Linked DNA regions of Homo sapiens: region 1 is linked to region 2. The links are contacts of gene promoters, found by promoter capture Hi-C in blood cells and fetal thymus (Javierre and others, 2016). All regions are on one chromosome and are shown on one strand. Each heading gives the region's core, a stretch centred on a gene start or on the middle of the fragment in contact. The rest is flanking DNA. Distances are from core to core; before and after follow the strand shown. Region 1 overlaps ASZ1 (ankyrin repeat, SAM and basic leucine zipper domain containing 1). Region 2 holds the start of ST7 (suppression of tumorigenicity 7).

Region 1 (6,672 bases), core at 3,410-5,909, 430 kb before region 2:
AGGGTGCAGGTCTGCATGACTTGTTTCAATGGTTATCTTGAGAAATTGCCTGTCCAGAAGGTCTGGTTTGCCTCATCCTGACTTTGGCCTGGTAGTGGTAGGTTAACTGTTCATAACTACCCCTAAGTGGGAGCTGTATCTCTCTGCCTGGTTTGTTTCAAAATTGGCCCCTGGATTACCTAAGCAAGCACATAATTAGATAAGCAAGCACTGTTCATTGAAGTGCCTGGTGGGAAAAGTAGAAACAAAGCATTTCAAAATATGTTTCAAAGCTGAAAACAAGAAAGGAAAAAAAGTTTTAAAATGCATTTTGAGGCTGGGATGCTCAGTTAAAAATAGACACTAGAGAATCCAAAGGGGAGGAGGCAAGGAGGGGTCAAGGGTTGAAAAACTACCTATTAGGTACTATATTCACTACTTGGGTGGTGGGATTAATAGAAGACCAAACCTCATCCTCAGCAACACACAATATACCCATTAACCAACCTTAACGTGTACCTCCTGAATCTTAAAAAAAAAAAAGACTTCTGGATCCAAATTGTTACTTAGACAACTGTAAGTCAGATATATTCAAATACATCACCATCACCCTGTATTTATATATGCATATATGCAAATACTAGGTGCATTTCTAATAAACAGCAATAGATTTCCTGGCTTTTATATTTTTACTTAAGTTGTATTGTTTTATTTTCATTTCATGTTGTTCATTGCTAGCATGAAGAAATACAATTGATTTTTTAAATATTTCTCTTGAATGCTGTAACCTTGCCAAATTCATTAGTTCTAGTACTTTTTTTGTGGAGTCCATCAGGTTTTCTATATACATCATGCTGTCTGTGAATAAAGACAATTTTGCTTTTTTTCCCATCTGGAGGCCTACCATTTTTCTTTTTCCTTGTCTTGTTCCGCTGGCTAGAACTTCCAATACAATGTTGGGTAGAAATGTGAGAGCATACATCCTTGTCTTGTTTCTGATGTTGGGGGAAAGTACTCTTTCACCATTAAATATGATGTTAACTGTAAATTTTCCATAGATGCTTTTGTCAGGTTGAGGAAGTTCTCATCTATTCCTATGTTGCTGAGTGTTTTTGTTAGAAATAAATGTTGGATTTTGTAAAATACTTGTTCTGCATTTGTTGAGGGTTTTTTTTCATTTTTAGTTTGTTAATATGGTACATTATATTGATTGATGTTTCAAATATCAAACCAGCCTTGCATTCCTAGGATAATTGCCTGTAGTCATGATGTATTAACCTTTTTATGTATTTTTGGATTCTGTTAAAATTTGTTTAAAACATTTTTATTTTCAGTGAAGATTATTGGTTTATAGTTTTCTTTCCTTATAATGGCACCCTCTGGTTTTGGTATAAGAGTAATTTTGCTTCATAGAATGAGTTGGGAAGCATCTTCCCCTCTTTAGTTTACTGGTTGAGTTTGTTTAGAATTGATGTTGTTTTCATTAACTGTTTTGTAGAATTCACCAGTGGAGCCATCTGGCCTGCTGTTTTCTTTGTGGAAAATTTAATTTAATTTATAATTACTAATTAAGTTTTTAAAAAATAAGTCTAGGGCTATTCAGGTTATTTCTTTTTGAGTGAGCTGTGGTAGCTTGTGTATTTTGAGAAATTTATCCATTTCATCTAAACTGTCTAATTTATTGGCATAAATTTGTTCATAATACTTCCTCATACTTCTAAAATCTGGATAATCTGTACTGATGTTACTTCTCTTGTTCTTGATACTGGTAACTTGTTTCTTCTCTCTGTTTTGCTTAATCAGTCTAGCTAGAGGTTTGAAAATTTTACTGATCTTCTCTTAATAAGGATCTGTATAAGAATAAGGAGTTAGCAATATGAAGGTCTGGGGACAGGCAAGAGCACTTGCACAGTTCCTGCAAAGGGGAGATCTTGGCATTTTCAAAGACAATAAACTGTAAGTGGCCAAGAATGGAAGCATGGAGGAGAGCAGTTATGAGACTATGGCAATATAAATCAGAGAAAGATGATGTTGTCTTGGACCACTGCAGTGGCTAATGAGGTGATGAAAAGTGATCAGAAGCAGATTATGAAGGCAGGGCTAATAGGAGCTGCCGGTGACTTGTACTTGGAATGACAGAGAAGAGTCATGAATTATGCCTAGTCTTAAGCCTGAGTAATGTGGTTAATGGTGGCTTTATGAAATAGGGAAGACTGAGAGGAGCAGATTTGGGTTATTATGCAGGTAAGTGCAGTGGAGATGAGACATCAACAGTTCGGATTTAGATGTAATGAAGAATTTGAATTCGAATGGTTAATTCAAATAATTTGTTGTTGCCACGTATGTGTGTATGTGGGGGTTTTGGGTGGCGTTGTTGTTGTTGTTGTTGTTGTTGTTGTTGTTGTTGTTGAGACAGGGTCTCACTCTGGTTGCCTAGGCTGGAGTGCAGTGGCACAATCTCGGCTCACTGAAGCCTTGATCTCCCAGGCTCAGGTGATTCTCCCACCTCTGAAGTAGCTGGGATTACAGTTGTGCAGACCACATCCAGCTAATTTTTTTTTTTTTTTTTTTTTAAGTAGAGGTAGAGGCAGGGCTTTCCTCTGTTGCCCAGGCTGGTCTCGAACTCCTGGATTCAAGCAATCCACCTGCCTTAGCCCCCCAAGTGGTAAGATTACAGGCCTGAGCCACCACACCTGGCTAGTTGTATATATTTTTTTATGTTTGCTTAAGTTATCCAGGAAATTCAATCTTTACCTCATAAAGATTGTCTATCTAATGAAGCCACTATGTAAGGGATATTCAAGGTAGAGGAGGCAATCTTTTACAACTGATTTAGCATATAATTTCACATAAAACATTCAAATTATAATATACCATGAAATATAAGAAACAGATATATATGAATTGTGCTAACAAGGACATAGGTGTGAAGTGTTCAGATTTCAGGGTATAACCTTATGCTAACAAACCTTACAGAGAAATAGTCTATTGGTAGGTTGTATATGTAATGTGAATAACCAATAAAAACTTTCTTGGTAAGATCAAAACATGGAACTCTGAAATTATTTATTTTTCTTTTCCAAAGTTCTTTGTGTATAAATCAGATCTTGAGGACGACTCAGGAAAATTGGGCTCAGAGTCTCAGACCTCCTTTAAAACAGACCATGATGTTATGTTCAGCCCAAGTAGAGCTGATAAAATCTGGTGTCCTTGGAATAGGCCCAGAAGGTGACTAACTTCCAGGAGTAGAAGGATTGAATCTCTAATTTTGGGAAATGATAAACTACAGAGAAACCACTATCCTCTCCCAGAAAGTACTCTTAAGAGAATATTAAGCTGGTTAATCTATTGGACTTATCTCTTTTCTAATTATATATAGTAAGTCTCCCAGTCAGAATAAAATTCTTTCAGTCTCAGACTAAAGTAGAATCATAATAGAATACATTAAGGAATGAAGTTTTTAAATTTACATTTTTGTTTCAGCAATCCTCTAAATAAAATGTAATAAGCATTTAGTATTAGCAAATCCTTTGAGGGCAGGGACCTTATTTGTGTCATTCATTACTATATTCCTAGCATAAGCATAGTGTGGGTACACTGATAATTTTCTAGATGAATATGTATATTAGTGAACTTCATAGTAGAAAGCGTGGCTTATTTCATGTATTTTTAATACATTTATTCACTAGAGGGTGCTGTGTAAGCATTCAGCACTTTAAAAGTGTCATCTCTTTCACTTGTACTTACTTGCAGGAAGGTTGGATTTTTAAATCACCTGATTTAGCAAAAGCTTTCATTTCTTTTCGTTTTCAAAGCAGTACTGGTGGTATTGTGTATGGTTAAATTAATGAAAATGAGAGATTAATGGCAGCATTAACACAAATGTTTCCTTTCTTCCTCCTCCTTAGGAGACTTATGACCCCAATCATGTATGCTGCTCGAGATGGTCACACCCAGGTTGTTGCTCTCCTTGTTGCTCATGGAGCAGAAGTTAATACCCAGGATGAGAATGGTTACACTGTGAGAAACATTTTTACAATGTTTCTTTTTGTTTCTGTTATTATCAGTAATCTACAAAAAAAGAATTTTAAGAAGTAATAATTACAAAAGGGCTGGAATATAATTGCTATCTGGTGAAAAAAAGCAACAGTTGAAATAGAAGGGTATGGTGACTCACACCTGTAATCCCTGCACTTTGGGAGGCCGAGGCAGGCGGATCATTTGAGGTTAGGAATTTGAGACCAGCCTGGCCAACATGGTGAAACCCTGTCTCTACTAAAAATACAAAAAATTAGCCAGGCATGGTGGCACGTGCCTTTAATCCCAGCTACTCAGGAGGCTGAGGCAGGAGAATCGCTTGAACCCAAGAGGCAGAGGTTGTAGTGAGCCAAGATCGCACCACTGCACTTCAGCCTGGGCAACAAGAGCGAAACTCCATCTCAAAAAAAAAGAAAAGAAAAGAAATAGAAATGAGGAATTAACTGACTCTCGTAGTCCTTACTCTTGATTAAAAAAAAAAATTGTAACACACAGCAAAATCTGGGCTCTAAAATATACATAAGAATTATTTTTTGTAGAAAACCCTTCAGTGATTGGCAAATAAATCATTTTATTCCTTAACATCAGTTAATTGTATAAAACACTGGTTTTAAAAAATCAATGAGCTTTGCAGTCAGCTTTGCAATTACAACTTTGGAAATATGTTTACATTATATTGTAAAATGAAGAGATTGCATCATTCCATTAATTAACTATGTTCTCTTTTTTATTGTGTCATAAATACTGTTGAAAACTTTTCCTGTCTGTCTCATATACACTCCTTCTCTTTAAACAATCTTCTTTTCCCCCTACTTACAGGCTTTAACGTGGGCAGCACGTCAGGGTCATAAAAATATAGTTTTGAAGTTGCTTGAACTTGGAGCTAATAAAATGCTACAAACCAAAGATGGAAAGATGCCAAGTGAGATTGCAAAAAGAAACAAACATCATGAGGTATCCTTCTGTACATATTAAACTTATTTTCTGTGGCATATCACATTATCATTTGTAGAACTTTTGTATTATTCTGTTAGAATTAAAAGTGTAATTATAGTGTATCTGGCAATTATTAAATGTTTAAATATGTATCTTTCCTCCAGCCAGGTAATGAGAACTTTATTTTGCTAGAGTATTCATCTTCTATGAAACAAGAAGCACTTATAGTAATTTAAAAGCTCTATAAAAGAGTAATAAAATCTTATTCTGGCCCCAGGAATAAAATTGTAATATACTATTTAAACATTTTAAACTGGTCCAGAATTTTAAAAGTAATTTAGTGAAAGCTAGTAAAATGCCAGTTTGAACATGTAACTCAAACATTCTTTTGTAAGTTTAATTAATGTATTAAACAATTTAAAAATTAAATTCCTTAAACAACATTTGCTCTTATATGTGTGACAGGGCTTACGATAAAGTGATAATATACCTGGATGTATAATCTGTCATTCAGATGTTAAACTCAATAATAAATACTTGCCATACATTAAATTACTTTATCAATATAAACTTTTGGTCTGAAGATTAAAGCTTTAGCCACAAGTCTGTAACTTCTAAGCAAGGATCAAGTATAGTACAATTATAAAACTAAGTTGTTTAGTTCAAGAGTTTGTAACACTGAGTTCCCGAATTTGAAAGCACGTAAAATTCCAAAGATTCCGTCATGTAATCATCAAACCAAGCCACTTTTACTGCATATAAAGTAACTTCCTCTAACCTTTTAAGCAATCTGATAAACATGGCTATCATTTTCCAAATATTATTCTAATATTTTCAGAATTTTTATAGGATAAACAGTAATCACTACAGCCCTGTAGAATTTCAAAAAGGAATTTACCATTTTTCTTCCAAACTTTGAAAATTCAAAAACTTAAAATTATTTTATTACATTGTTAAATGTAGAGTAGATGACACCAAACTTGACATAAGAAGTTTATGAACATCAAAGGTTATTTTGAGTCATAAATCATTTATTGAAATGAGATTTGATCTTGTATTTTGGCTGAGTATGTGATATAACCTTGACTTCCTGAGAGGTTAGATTTTAAAACTCAGGAATTTCACCATATCTTTTTGAGGTGTTCAGTTAGGATTTGTATACATTTAGTCATGCTCATTACTCTCTTGCCACTTAGCAATGTTTTTAAAGTACTATCTTAATATTTAATCTGAGTCATTTATCCAAATGGAATTTTTAGTTTCGCTATGTATCTTACCAAAAATATTAATTACTATCTTCCTTTAATTTTTACTATTTTGAATTAGATGTACTTTTTTCTTTTCTGATTATTGTAGGTTAAGGAAGCACTTAGATATCCCAATTACCCTGATTTGTTTATTATACATTGTATATGTGTATCAAAATATCGCATGTACCCCCCAAAATATATACAACTGTGATATATCATTTTTTTAAAAGTTGTTATCAGGGTAGTAAATTGTGAAACATCTGTCCCACTTACTTGCTAAAATTTCCTTTCTGGATATGAGATAATCGTATGTTCAGTTTCTTTTAAGTGTAAGTTACAGTATGCAATGTTAATTATATTTGAATGATGTTAACTTTTTTCAGATCTTCAACTTACTTTCTTTTACTTTAAATCCATTGGAAGGAAAACTTCAACAGCTAACTAAAGAAGACACTATTTGTAAAATATT
Region 2 (6,285 bases), core at 3,058-5,557:
CAAAAAACTTTATAACATAGGGTAGATGAGAAAGTGCCATCAACACCACTGTATAAGTTATGGTACTATTTTTTAAGACTCACCTATTTTAATAATATCCTGCATGACTGTGCCAATCTACAATTAATTTTCTGCCCTTTGGAAAAGTATTGCTTTATGATATTAATTCACTTGAAAACTGACAAGTAATATTATTTGGGGTCTTTTAAAAACCTTGTTAAAATTTCATTCTATTTTCAGTAAATCATAAAACTATTTTAACACTATTGTATCCAAATCAAGAGCAGAGCCTCAAAAATCAGTTACCAGCAGCTGGGCATGGTGGCACACACCTGTAGTACTCGCTACTAGGGAGGCTGAGGTGGGAGGATCCCTTAAGCCCAGGAGTTCAAGCCCAACCTAGGTAACATACTAAGACTCTCTTAAAAAACAAACAAAAAAAAAAACTATTATCAAAGCTAGCCACTATGTACTATTCCTATTATGTTCGTTTTCTCCCCTTTCTTTTTTAAAATTCATTTTCATTACAAGATGTGATTGCCAATGTTAAGGTTTCTCTGTATGGTCTAAGAGAATACTGTGGAATTCTTTGAACTATATCCCTACCCTAAATGGCACTGGCTCAATGCAACGAAGGTCACACGAGCCAAGCTGGTGGGAGTAGGGAAGTAGTATACCTCAAAAACAGCATTCAAAGCATTTTTACTTGGAAAACTACACGATGTAAGAGCTAAAAACGGTATGGTTGTTCATCAAAGTCCTTTTCTTTTATTATTTTAAATTAAATTCCACGATTAGCTCTTCTCTGAATCTGACCTGCACTTTCACAACTTTGTCCCTTTGTTTGGGAGGTCCACCTCTGAGTCCTCAATCATGGAATTCTCCTCATCCTCTTAGGCTCAATTCAAGAGAAGCTCTCACAGCCTTGCCCAGCCCCATCTTGCATATGGGAAGTTGTATTCTTGTAGTAAACTCCTTATTTACCCTGGGTTTTACAAACTCATTCATCTTTCTTATCATAGCACCTGTTATAGTACATTAGGAGGCATCTAAATTAAAAAAAAATCGAGTTAAGCTCATTTACCATAAAATATGATCAAATGAGGATTAAAATTGTCACAGATGGTCAAGATATTGAGAAGATACCAAGCAGATATCCAAGAATGACTCCAGAACACTTTTAGCAGATTCCATCCCCCTACAGGTACAGAGCTGGGCCTATGGAAGCCCTGGCTCCTGGCTGCCTGATTGTGATGGTGTCTTTGGCTTCCTTGAGGAGGAAGGGAGGCCTGCGCCATCTGCAACTCCCTAAAAGCAGCTCCAGATTCAGTAACCTCTCCAGGAACACACTTGCCTTCATCACAGGAAGAGTAAGCACCACAGGGCTGAAGAACAGCAAAGTTAGTCCCGTTAGAACTCTTTTAGACCTCCCTGCAAGGACAAGTTAGACCAGGCTAGCTCCTGCCTCCCCTCTCAGGGGTGCTGGCTAATGACTTCTTTCTCCCTGGGCCTTCCTTGCCAATAACTTCAGTACAGAAACTTTTTCCCAAAGGGGAGGGGAATTGGCAAGGAAAGGAGGGAATTAAGTTGACAACAACCTTTTGGCAGTTTTCCTACTATAACTTCTCACTGTTACTTAAAAGGGAAGAAAATAGGCCTCTAATGTCTGCAACTGTTTTTTGAAAAACCTAAACTGTTCTAGGGTGGTTTGTGGCTATAATTTCATGTCTCAAAATTAATGCCAAAGTCCTCCTCCCACCCCAGATCCTGCTACCCTCTCATAAAAACAGCAGAGAGGTGAGTGCTCTCTGTGTGCTTCCCCTTTTATCTTTCTTTATGACTGAAATGAGCATGAAACCAAACTGAAAAGTCCAGCATCATCAGGTCTTCTATCATGTGTCTAGCAAGGTACAGCCCGGATGGCACGTTCATCTTCATATTTTCGCTATCTCTTAGAACTGCCCCTACACAAATTAACAAAGGCATCTCTGAGAAATGCTAGATTTAAATTGCTAGAAGACCTAACAATGCCCTTCCTTAAGAAGTACACATTTTCCCAGTAGATATTTTGCTTCTTGCCTGATCTGCACAGAGCACTGGATGTGACACTTACACATATATACATGGGTAATTATTTAACCTGATGAAAATGTGATATACAAATGTATATCATGAAATAAAATTTTAAGTGTGTAATAAGGAGAAACATTAATATTTTAAAAACTAGTGTGTTTGAAAATCCCAAGTGCAAAAGTGTTGAAAGGTGGGACCTGTGAGTGGTAATTAGGTCATGAAGGCTCTGCCTTCAAGAATGAATTAATTTTGTTATTGAGGGAGTAGGTTTGTTATAAAAGTGAAAGTGGGCCCCCTCTTGTTTTCTCATGTTCTCTTACCCTTCCACCTTCCACCAAGGGATGACAGCAAGAAGGACCTCCCCACATGCCAGTCCCTTGATCTCAAGACTTCCCTGACTCCTGAACTACAAGAAATAAAATGTGTTCTTTAAAAATTACCCAATCTGTGGTATTCTGTTACAGCAGCACAAAACAGACTAACACTGTTACCAACAAATACGTAATTCCATTAAAACATATATTCAAACAACTTCTTAAAGGTATAGAACTTTGAGACCAGAAGGTATCCTGGAGACATACTTGTCTAAAGCGAAGAAGACAATATTGCGACAAGCAGCCATCCAAAAAGATGAAAAGCGAGAAAGCCATGGTCTTTCCGATGACAGACTCAAAAGGGCTGAGCAGCACCTATTCAAATGGTGAGACAATTCTAGAGTGCTGAATCCTATCCGCCTCCCAGGGACACGATCCCGAGGGATACTACAAAACAAATGTAAATATGAACATGAGTTCAAGTTAGTAATCAAAATACTTAAGTTAGTATCTGAAAGGTACAAGTTTCCTAACAAAATGAGTACATTATCTCAAGCGTTTTAAAAAGCGTTTTAATGCAGCTAAACACCTGAGGAAAATGCATTTCCAGACTTGCACTCCCAGAGTATGGAGATTAACAAGGGAAGATATATATGTGTACATATGTATATATCTTCAGGACTGTAAGAATTTCCCAGTACTGTGAAATTAAAATTTAAAACAAAAACAAAAACACTCTACCTTGAAATTTCCAGATTTAAAGGACTGTAACCCTTAGCTCGAAATTTACTTTGTGTTTCGGAACTCTCTGGAGTGTTAAGGCTCGTGTGTTTTCTTTGCGGGTGTTTTTTTAACGACTCAGTGGGCTGGCTCCAAGTTTGTGAAGATCCTGTTAATTACCTCCTGCATTTACCACCGACCAAGGATGGGAGGCACGCGGCACTTGCTGAGCATATGTAGCTTTACAGGGAAGGGAGACGAGCAAAGATCACTGAAAACTGCAACCGAAACCCTCAGAAATTCCAGCTCTCCCCTCTTCCCTCCGGTCCCTTCGACAATCCATTTGGTGACCTGACACGTCATCCATACACTCCCAAGAGTGCCTTCGGGAACCCCTCTCCCCACTACCCAACCAGAGAGACAGCCCCACGCCCGGCAAGACGCAACTCCGGGCCACGGAGGGCGCCGCCCGGACAGCCCGGCCGGGTCAGGGGGCTTCGCCGCCGAGCACCCTCCGGCAGCCGCCCTCGGGCCTCCGCGGCCGGGCGGGAGGGCGCCTCCCCGACCACACTTCGGCCGCTTGGCACCCACAGCCGGGAGGGCGTGAGGAAGGACTCGGTCTAACTCCGGGGAACCCTCGGAGTTCCGGCGCAGACACCCGAGGGGGTGTCCTGGGAACTCCTTCGCCCGCGACACCCGTTCTTCTCCGTCTCCCGACCACCAGCGACGCAGCAGGGCGGCTGCCGGCCCGGCCCGGCCCGCCTTGCGGGCTGTGCGCGGCGCAGCTCTTCCTCCGCGGGGCCGTGAAGGCCACCGGCCGCCCCCGCGCGCCCAGCTGCCCGGCCCCGCCGCCTAAGCCGCCGCGTTGCTGGCGGGTAGCCGCGGGCCTCCGGTGCGCGGGCCCCGGCGCGTCCCCGAGCGCGCGCCTGGCCGCGGCCCCGCGCGAGTTGCACTAACTTTCCGGGGCGGGGGAGGGGTGGGCGCCGCGGGCCCGGCTCCCAGGCCTTACCTGTGCTCAAGTTGTCGTTGATTTTCAAAGGCACCCGCAGGATGTAGACCAGGAATAGCACGATGAAGAACCACACGGTCCACAGATACGTCCAAGACCAAACTATGCAGGACTTGAGCTGCTCCAGAAAGCCCGTGGCCGCTTCAGCCATGTTTCAGCGCTCCTCTCTGCTGCCGCGGCTCTTGGTGTCTGCCGGGATGATTCACCGGCCCGGAGGCGCAGCTCGCGCCGCCGCCGCCGCCGCGGCCCGGGCGCCCCCGGAGCCCGCCCGCCGCCGGGGACGCGGGCTCGGCGGGAAATCGCGCGGGCCGCGGGCGCGCCGGCTTTTCCTTCTCCAGCCTTATTGCTAACTCTCTAAAGGTCCCTACAAGTGGCTTTCGTGGAGCGATCACGTGGCCCCTGCCCCCTCGCGTTCTGGGTCCATTTATATTTATTATGCTAATATTTAGAAAGAGAAGGCCAAGTGGCGCGCCGAAGGAAACGCCTCAGGCAGTTACAACCCGCATAAGTTGAGCGTTTACCACACGCCAGGCGCTGCTCCACGATCCGTACAATCTCATTTAACCCCTGCAACAATTCCCCACTACGATCCTCTTTCTATAGGTAGGGAAACTGAGGCTCACAGCAGCTGCGTAGTTTACCTTAAGGTGGAACCAAAATTCAATTGCAGTGGTGTATTCTGGGGTCCGAGGTCTTAAACCCTACTCTGCTCCCTTATCAGGATTCAGGCTCAGGGAATGAATAAACCCGGGACAGCTAGGAGAAGGGAGGAGGTGCGCTCCTGTCGCCGGCTAGTAGGCCTGAAGATAAATCACTCTATTCAGCAAGATTTGGGTGGCAGATGCTATTTACCTTTGTTCTGTCTCTTTGAAGCAGCGCAGGGATTTTCCAGAGAAATCTTGACAGATGAATGTTTATCCTCCAGGTTTTTTGGTGATCAGAGGTCAAACTATTCTCAGCCTGTTTTTAATATAAACAATTCTCTGGGATAATTTTGACTGTGAAACGGCCACCTCTAACAGAAAGTCCATTTTAAACATTGTTTTGTTGTTTTTGTTTTGTTTTGACTGTGCTGAATAAAATGTTTCTTTTATTCTAAAATGTTTTCTCAGCTGAAATTTTCAAGTCTGTTTCTGTCCGTAAGTGATTTGACTTTCTATGTATTAGATGGTAATGAGGAAATTGCAGGTTTTCCAGTCTACATCTATTTTTAAAATTCTGAGCATAAAGAATATTTTATTATAAATTGTTTTGCTTACTTGTATAATAGTTTCCTTCATAATTAAATAAGCTCCTTTAACTTTTCACATATAGGGCCTATTACGGCATACATAATGGATGGAACTACTCTTAAATTTTTACTAATTCCAGCCTCTCTCGGCTACTGTTTCTTCCTCACATTTGATCTACTACAGTGAGATCCAGGCCAGAATAAGTGAAATTGGCACACATAGACTTTCTTTATAGTTATTTATGGCAGCACATGACCAAATGATTTTTGTGTCTAACACTGATACATGGAATCTCAGTAAAATAAAACAATATTGTCACCAGTAAAGGATCGTGACTGCAGGTTGTCCAGGTTCTTGGCGTTTTGAACAAAGAATTGGACAAAACACCCAGAGAAGCGACAAAAGAACGAAAGCAGGGATTTATTGAAAACGAAAGTACACTCTACATTGTGGGAGCGGGCGGAGCAGCGGCTCAAAGGCCGAATACAGAATCTTCTTGGGTCCAAATACCCCCAAGAAGTTTCCCTTTGGCAACTCATGCTCATCTCACGTAAATGAAGTGGTAGCCCGCAATCAGTCTGACTGGTTGCAGAAAGCAGCCAACCAGAGGCTGAAATGAAGATACAAAGGTAACACTCCTGTGCAAACATCTGATTGGTTGCAAAAAACAACCAATCAGAGGCTGGGATGTACTTAATGAAGTTATGCTTCTATGCAAACGAAGACTCGCCCACAGTCTGATTAGTTGTGGACAACAACCATTCAGAGGCTGGAGTGAAGTTACAAAGTTGCAAATGAAGATTGGACCCGCAGTCAGTCTGATTGGTTACAGACAGCCAATTTCCCATCTACTAGGCAGAAAAGGTCAAAGGTAGCCTCTGGTCCTTTTGTTACTTAGGCGTGGAAAGTTAGGGTTTTCCTTTCAATGTAGTTCAAG

Evidence for each region. Contacts are between HindIII fragments. The CHiCAGO score rates a contact against its expected background, and 5 or more counts as called.
Region 1: a fragment that was not itself captured here is called in contact with the fragment with the promoter of ST7 in region 2 in 1 of 17 cell types (endothelial precursors); the score reaches 5.7 in endothelial precursors.

The regions. Positions count from the first base shown.
Region 1 is chr7:117,383,025-117,389,696 of GRCh38, reverse strand. It overlaps ASZ1 (ankyrin repeat, SAM and basic leucine zipper domain containing 1), which reads left to right. Exons shown (of 13, transcript NM_130768.3): 5 at 3,888-3,999; 6 at 4,837-4,971; 7 at 6,587-6,672. Among named protein-coding and RNA genes, the nearest start is that of ASZ1, 41 kb to the left of the region's middle. The HindIII fragment of the contact is 1,775 bases long and covers 3,772-5,546 here.
Region 2 is chr7:116,951,523-116,957,807 of GRCh38, reverse strand. ST7 (suppression of tumorigenicity 7) reads right to left here and starts at 4,307. Exons shown (of 16, transcript NM_001369598.1): 1 at 4,117-4,307. The coding sequence starts at 4,267. It overlaps ST7-AS1 (ST7 antisense RNA 1), which reads left to right and starts at 3,474. Exons shown (of 1, transcript NR_002330.1): 1 at 3,474-5,362. It overlaps ST7-OT4 (ST7 overlapping transcript 4), which reads right to left and starts at 3,960. Exons shown (of 5, transcript NR_002329.2): 1 at 3,699-3,960; 2 at 3,129-3,347; 3 at 2,655-2,834; 4 at 1,085-1,385. RefSeq lists silencers at 1,695-1,954, 3,552-3,851, 3,912-4,111, 4,322-4,391 and enhancers at 3,313-4,236, 4,652-4,761. The HindIII fragment of the contact is 11,677 bases long and covers 1-6,285 here.